Regions from separate parts of the Homo sapiens genome. Here region 1 is linked to region 2. The links are contacts of gene promoters, found by promoter capture Hi-C in blood cells and fetal thymus (Javierre and others, 2016). All regions are on one chromosome and are shown on one strand. Each heading gives the region's core, a stretch centred on a gene start or on the middle of the fragment in contact. The rest is flanking DNA. Distances are from core to core; before and after follow the strand shown.

The links. The method cuts DNA at HindIII sites, captures the fragments that hold promoters and counts their contacts. A CHiCAGO score of 5 or more calls a contact.
Region 1: a contact is called between a fragment that was not itself captured here and the fragment with the promoter of TTC21B-AS1 in region 2, in 5 of 17 cell types (total B cells, M2 macrophages, naive CD4 T cells and 2 more). The highest score is 7.8, in total B cells.

Annotation. Positions count from the first base shown.
Region 1 is chr2:165,396,644-165,400,646 of GRCh38, forward strand. No RefSeq gene overlaps it. Among named protein-coding and RNA genes, the nearest start is that of CSRNP3, 71 kb to the right of the region's middle. The HindIII fragment of the contact is 5,097 bases long and covers 1-4,003 here.
Region 2 is chr2:165,931,486-165,935,405 of GRCh38, forward strand. TTC21B-AS1 (TTC21B antisense RNA 1) reads left to right here and starts at 2,372. Exons shown (of 4, transcript NR_038984.1): 1 at 2,372-2,591. TTC21B (tetratricopeptide repeat domain 21B) reads right to left here. Exons shown (of 29, transcript NM_024753.5): 7 at 1,488-1,572; 8 at 273-371. The HindIII fragment of the contact is 5,075 bases long and covers 1-3,920 here.

The sequences.
Region 1 (4,003 bases), core at 908-3,407, 540 kb before region 2:
TAATCTGTTTACTTTAATGTGCTTGTTAGGTTTTGAAATCAAGATTATGCTAACCTCTTAAAACAAGTAGGCAAAGGACTTTTCTTGTTCTTGTTCTCTGGTAGAGAATAACTAAGACTGGTGTTAATATTTTTCTTAATTCTTTGGATAATTAATTAGTAAAATCTGAGCATGAATTGTTTTTATGTACAGGTTTTTAATTATGTATTTATTTTCTCTGATAGAGGACCATTCATATTTGCTGTTTCTTCTTGTTTCACTCTCTGTAATTTGATAAAATTTCAAGTTTATTTACGTAAAATTGTTTATGATGATATTGTTTTTTAAAACTCTATAGGATCTTTAGTGGTGACCCATCTTGATTCCTGTTATTGGTATTTTGTGATTTCTCTTCTTTACTTATTTAGTCTTTTAAGGAACCAACTTTTGCCTTTTAAAATATTCTGTACTGTATGTTCTTTCCTATTTTTATTTGCTTTTATATTTATAATTTTCTTTCTTTTATTTCTTTAGTTTTAATTTACTATTGTTTTCTAAATTCTGAAAATCTCTATTTCATTCATTGATTTCAACCTTTGTTCTTTTTTTAGTAAATGCACTTAAGACTATAAATTTCCCTCTAAGCATGGCTATACTAGCATCCCACAAATCTTAGTATATTTCATTTTGTTAACATTCAGTTTAAAATATTTTCTCACCTCTATTTTGATTTTTAAAAATCTTACTAGAAACTTAGAAGAGAACTGCTTAATTTCCAAATACTTGAAAAAGTTTCTAGATATATTTATTTAGATTTCTAATTTAATTTCCTACATTCAGATAATATCGATAATATACTTTGTATAATCTTAATTATTTAACTTTTGGGGGAAAATGCTTTGTAGCTCAGCATCTATCAAATGTGTCATGTATTTCATATGTAGTTGAAAATAAAGTACATTTCAGTTGTTAAGTACAAAATTCTATATATTTTATTCATGAATTTGAAAGAAATCTTCATTTCTTTTGGCTGTTTTTACTATCCTTTACCAGAAGGGGTGTGCAAAAATTTTCCAATATGATTATAAATTTATTTATTTTAGTTCTGTTAACTTTTGCTATATATTTTAATTTTTATGTAGTTATTTGATATTTATTAGGTGCCTAAAATTTAAATTGCTACATTTTTTTCCCAGTAGATTGACCCTACTGTCATTATGGACCAGTCCTGTTAATTTCTAGTAAGATTGCCCTAAGTTCATTTTGTCTGATTATTATTATGCCTACAGTGGCTTTGGCTGGGTTGGTGATTGCATGGTACATACTCTTTCATTGTTTTACCTTAAATGTTTCTGTAACCTCCTATTCAATATTGAATATTCATGAATTATATTTTATATCCAGTCTAACAATATTTCTCTCTCTCTCTCTCACACACACACACACACACACACACACACACACATCTCACATTTGGATTTAAATTTTATGACTTCTTTTGGATTATTTGTATAATTCAGTTTTATACATTTTGTTACTATATTGTTTATAGTTACCCAAGCAATTGCCACATTAACTTTTTAAACTCCAAAATGAGTTAGTATTTCGCTACTTTCTGGACATTGCTAGGACATGAGAACACTTTTATTCTATTTCCCCCATTTCATCTTTTGTACTATTATTATATATTTTCATTTTACATGTAGTCTAACTCTGGAAGACATTATTATTACTTTTATGAAGTCAACACTTACTTAGTGTATTAGTATGTTTTCACACTGCTATAAAGATACTACCTGAGACTGGGTAATTATAAAGGAAAGAAGTTTTTGTTGTTTGTTTGTTTTTACAGACAGAGTCTTGCCCTTTGCCCAGGCTGGAGTGCAGTGGTCCACTCTCGGCTCACTGCAACTTCCACCTCCCAGGCTCAAGTGTTTCTACTGCTTCAGCCTCCCAAGCAGCTGGGACTACAGACTCCTACCACCACACCAGGCTAATTTTTGTATTTTTAGTAAAGATGGGATTTCACCATGCTGCCCAGGCTGGCCTCGAACTCCTGATCTCAAGTGATCCGCCCACCTCAGCCTCCCAAAGTGCTGGGATTACAGGTGTGAGTCACCATGCCCAGCCAGAAAGAGGTTTAATTGACTCACAGTTCCCAGTGGGTAGAGAGGGCTCAGGAAACTTACAATCATGGTAGAAGGTGAAAGGGAAGCAAGGCACACCTTATATGGCAGCAGGAGAGGGAGAGAGTGTGAGGAAGTGCCACACTTCAAAACCATCAGCTCTCGTGAGAACTCACTCACTATCACTGGAACAGCATGGGGGAACCACCCCCATGATCCAGTCACCTCCCACCAGGTCCCTCCCTTGAACATGGGGTTTACAATTCAAGATGAAATTTGGGCTGGGATACAGAGCCAAACCATATCACTTAGTTTTCCCAAAATATTTAGTTTTTTATTCTTTTCTGTATTTTCTACTAATCTATGGATTATTTCCCTTCTGCCTGAAAAAAAGATTCTTTTTAATATTTCCTTTACTATGGGTCTGCTCTTACTGACTCTCTCAAGTTGAATTTGTCCCCTAATTTTTTAATTTTCACTTTTGAAAGATATTTTTACCAGACATGAGTACCAAGATACTTTTTCTATTTTAGCATTTTGAGGTGACAGTCATTGTCTTCTGTAAAAAGAATTTCAAGAAACCCCCAAAACCATAATTTTCATGAAAATGAACACATGACCACATGTCAAAGATTTCATTTAACTCATTAATTAATGAGAAAATCCATAAGAACTAAACAACAGGATTAAAGGAGGATTTGACTTATAGAGATCCATGAACTCTGCTTGACAACTTTTATTTGCTTTGTCATGAACAGGAATCATTTCCTGGCTACAGGTAAAATTATCAGAAACAGAGGCTCTGTGGTCTCTTGATGGAAATTCCTTCTCTAAATGTTGCTTCCAGATGTCTCTGATCTATTGGTCTTTTGGGCAGTTTCATACCCTGCTTTCTACCCCTCCCCATGCCAAAACTCCAAAGAAATTCTGAATCCTCTTTTGTGCTAGGTGCAGACCATGTGGCATTGTAGCCATGCTCTTAGCCTCCTCCTGTACCTGCACGATGGCACCAAGGCTCTCCAGGGCTATGCTAAATGTGGGTCATTCCTCAGCATCTTGCAATTTTCATGGTCTATGTTCTGTAAAGGGAAGAACGTGCCCTCTGCTTGTGAGTCCCTTAAATGTTTCTATCTTTGAACGTCTACCACCAGCACCACCCCCAGTTCTAGTTTTAATCATGAGGGAGGAAAATCAGATCACTCATATATAATCCTTTACTCTTAATTTTTTTCTCTTACTTTCCAGCATCTAGCAACAGTTATTTTCCTTCCCTTTGAGGCAGGAATTTTCTTTACATAATATACTATTCTTTGTATTCTGGGATCCATACTTTGTTCAATTCTTTGAACTCTGGGTCTTAATATGCAAAAATCTGACATTACTATGGATTTATAAATATCAAATTAGAAGGTGAGTGATGTTTTTCTATTGTTGATATAATTTTTATCTGAATTCCTATTCTTTGAAAGAAAAGGCTTCATGGTCTTCATGATGCACAGGATTCAAGAAAAGGAGAGAAATTTACCAGAAAAGTAAAATGCAATAGCAGACAACTCAAACACTACCTTAATATAAACAAATACATGCACCTATATTTTTAATTTGATAAATCTTATAGCATACTATTGGAGCCAGTCTTCAGGATGTTAAGAGGGATTATCACCTCATTCCCATTTCTAGAAAGGCTTTATATAAAGAATTGGCATAGAAAGAACCACAGTTGTGTTTAATAACTATTGTCATTTTTTTCAATACTAACCAGCACCTTTTGACAAACCTGCCAATATTTTAGAAAACCATATTTTGATGTACCTGATTGCCCTTTTTTGACAGTTCCTCAAAAAGTTTAACACAGAATTATCCTATGACCCAGGAATTCTACTCCTAGGTATACACCC
Region 2 (3,920 bases), core at 1,122-3,621:
TGAAAATAAACCACCTTCTATTTCCTTTGTCTGGAAGGCACTTCGCTATGCTTAAAAGATCAGTAAGTGGCATTTCCTCCATGAAGCCTCCATCAGGTTCTTACAGTTGGAAACCACACCTCCTCTAAACTGCCTTTCCTAGGAGTATATCATATATTTAAATACATATTTGCACTCTAGGCCATATGCTCTTCCCTGCTTCCACCTTTTCCACTTATTTTATGTCCTCTACTATAGATAACAGAGCTCTGGTACATGGTAGGCACTCTCACAGTTCTGCTGAAGGCGAGTGTAATGTTATAGAAAAGTTGAGCATTCTGTGGTTCCATGGCATCCAATGTATTTCCCAAGTTTTCCAGCTTGGTGGAAGCCTAAAACAAAAGGAACTGGTATTAACTTAAAATATACTAAGTAAAAACAACATAATACATGCACATACACACTAACAAAGCATTACCCTACTAGTATTTTAAAAGACCTTTGCTTTTATAAATTCCTCCTCCTTCAATGGATGATTATATGTTATAAAACATATTTAAGATTCTAACAAACTCAATAATTATAAATGTGTTTTAGAATGTGTTTCTTTAATACTTGTTATTGAATGGAAACCTTTGGATAGGCGAAGACACCCATAATATTCCATTAACTGTACATGCCCAGCTCCGCCTTCAATAGTTAATTCATGACACAAATGAGATACGAATGATAATGTATTTACAAGTATATGAGGTCAGCCCTTCAATTGCCTATACAGACTGGTTTATATTCAAAATATATTCTAGACTAGAAAAATCATTACAGTACTTAGTATAAGTAATTTCAATGCCTGGAAAATTTACTGAAGATTTACCCCTACTAAGATACTCCTAGCATTTACTGAAGTATCTATCAGGCACTGTCACATTAACCAATTTAACCACACTAAACAAAATGCAAATCTACTACATGTTATACTAATATTACTTCCTTCAGATTAGAGTTTGGCACTCCATGATCCAATCTACAGTCAATGTGTTCACTACTACAGAAACAGATGTGCTTTATTATGAGGTATAATGGGATTTTATCCCAAGCCCATTTAATTTTTGCAAATTCAGTTAAATTGTAAATATACTATAAATTACATTTTGCATACATACTTTCTCATATCTAGTATCACTAGTTACATTACGTATCTAGTTACATTAATCATATATATTACTACACAGGAGTTTCATACAGAAAGCCATATATACTATAATTAATGATTTAAGGGATTTTCAAGGGTAATATTAACTGTATAGTATTTTTGCTTTACCAATAGATTTCAGAAGCTGACCTCTTTGTTAAGGTATACTCTAGTAATCAACTAAAAACTACCATGATGTATATTTTAAAAGAGAACTTCAAGGCTTTAATGTATATGCACATGCACACATGGGTGTGTATGTGTAATGAAATATATTTTTTAATATAGGAAACTTAAATAATACAATGCCACTTACCTTCTCTATATCCCCCTCTCTACACACATAGTAGAGTGCCTGCATTCTCAGTGCTTCCACATTTTGGCTATCTTGGAGCAGCAACCTGCAGGAAAACAATTTAGTTAATGTCAAAATAAATTTATATATTTTCTTTTATTCGAGGGCATGAAAAGTTGGTTTGCTTGCCTCACTATTCCACTGTTCAAATAAGTAATTTTCACTAGTAAAATGTCATCTGCTTTGTGAAAATTATCAACTTTATTATTTAAACAAGTAAAAGTCTCTGGAGTTTAATTTTTAATATGTTTTTAAAAGATATGAATAGATTATACTAGTCTCATTAAATCTTGTGGCAATCCTAAATAAAATATTAGCTAACTATATACAACAGTATAGTAAAAGAATAATTCACCTTAACCAGGCTGACTTATTACAGGAATTCCGGGAATGCAAACCAGGGTCAAACATTACAATACCTACTAATGTTATTCACAACAACAGATTCCTACGTGATAAAAACAAATGAGAAAATATTACATTAAAAAATCTTATTAATAAATGGAACAAAAACCAAAAAGAAAAACATAACAGGCATAAACTTAAGAAATGTGCAAAAGCTATAAAATTCCTATGAAACTGTACTCAGGGACATTTTTAAAAAGAACTGAACCAAAAAGGTAACGCCCCAGACTTCTCTTATCATGGATGATGTGGTACATATCACAATTACTGGTTCCAGTTTTTCAACCCTCCCTGAGTACGTGTCTTCTGCCATGTAACTAACTACAAAAGTTGGAGTGTACCCTACTGCTTCTTGACTAGGGACTTGGACATTTTTCTTATATTGGCCAATGGAATGTGGGCAGGAATAGCAGTGTATCAACCTAAATTTTAGAGGCACTGCATACTTCTGCTTGTTCTCTGGCACTTGCTATCAGTACAAGAAGAATTTCCTCTGGGTAGTGGCTGCTACTTGTTGTGAGTCTGGGGGAAACACTATTGGAGGTGACAAGAGTCCAAACTGCAATGATGTGCCACATTCACCCAGCTGCATCTGAACTGAAGCAGGGCCCCAGCCAAGCCTTGCCTGAGATCAGCAGACCCTCGATGACCCACAAAAATGTGAGTAAAGAATACTTATTATTATATGTCCTGACATTTGTGGTTGTTTGCTATACACCAATAGCTGCCTGATATAATAATGGTCATTTTTGGGAAAGAAAATTTTTTTTCCCCACATATGACTACAAATTTAATGCAATTCAAACCAAAATCTTCTATGGCTTCTTTTTTATTATTTTGTAAATTGATTATGACAGTCAAGAGCGAAAAAAAGAGCCAACAAAACTGTTATAAGAGAAACACGGAGAACTCCGTCTCTACTAAAAATACAAAAAATTAGCAGGGCGTGGTGGTGGGTGCCAGTAATCCAAGCTACTCAGGAGGCTGAGGCATGAGAATCACTTGAACCCGGGAGGCGGAGGTTGCAGGGAGCCAAGATCGCGCCATTGCACTCCAGTCTGGGCAACAAGCGAGACTCTGTCTCAAAAAAAAAAAAAAAAAAAAAGAAAAGAAACGAAACATGATGGAGAACTTGTGATAAAAATTATCAGAGTCCATTGAAAACTGAGGAGAGAATAGGCTCACTTAAAAAAAAAAAAAGCATATTTAGAACCAGTTATATACCAAAGAAAAACAAGAGCTTTTAGCATATGAAAAATTGCTCAATCTCAACACAATAAAAGAAATGAAAATAAAAATGAGATACCTCTCTTTCAGATTGCTTGAAAAAAAAAATACACGCACTGAAAATGGCCAGAATTGGTGAGGATAAGGTAAGGGATCATTCAATAGACTACTAGTAGGAGTGTAAATTAGTACAATTTCCTAGGAGAGCAATTTGGCAGTGCCTATCAAAATTTTAAATTTATATACTTGAGGGAGAGACTACAATTTGTCTCCTCAAATTCATTCTCTCCTTATTTGCTTGGGCATGTGGCTAGCCAACACTTCCTAGATATCTTTGCATTCAGAGGTGGTCAACGTGAAATAAAGTAATATATGCCATTTCTGGGCCTGGGCTTTTATGAAAAGTGGAATGACTTCTCTACATTATCTTTCCCTTTCTGCCAAGTGTTATGAGGTCTTAGGAGATGGCAGGACTGCAAGATGGAAAGCGTCTAGGTCCGTTAAAAACAGTGTGGAGCAAAGCTGCCTGATCACTTCTAACATTTACCCAAAACAGTTACATATGGGGAAACATTCTTCTATTACACTGAATCATTATATGTTTAGATCTGTTTTTGTAGCAGCTTAGCCTACCCTAACAAATACAGTATCTTGGATTCAACAATCTCTCCTTTGGGAAACTTCTCTGCAGATATAGTCCTACATGTGTTCAAAGAGGTATGTGTGTATGCATGTGTGTACAGTGCACTATACTGAACAGTG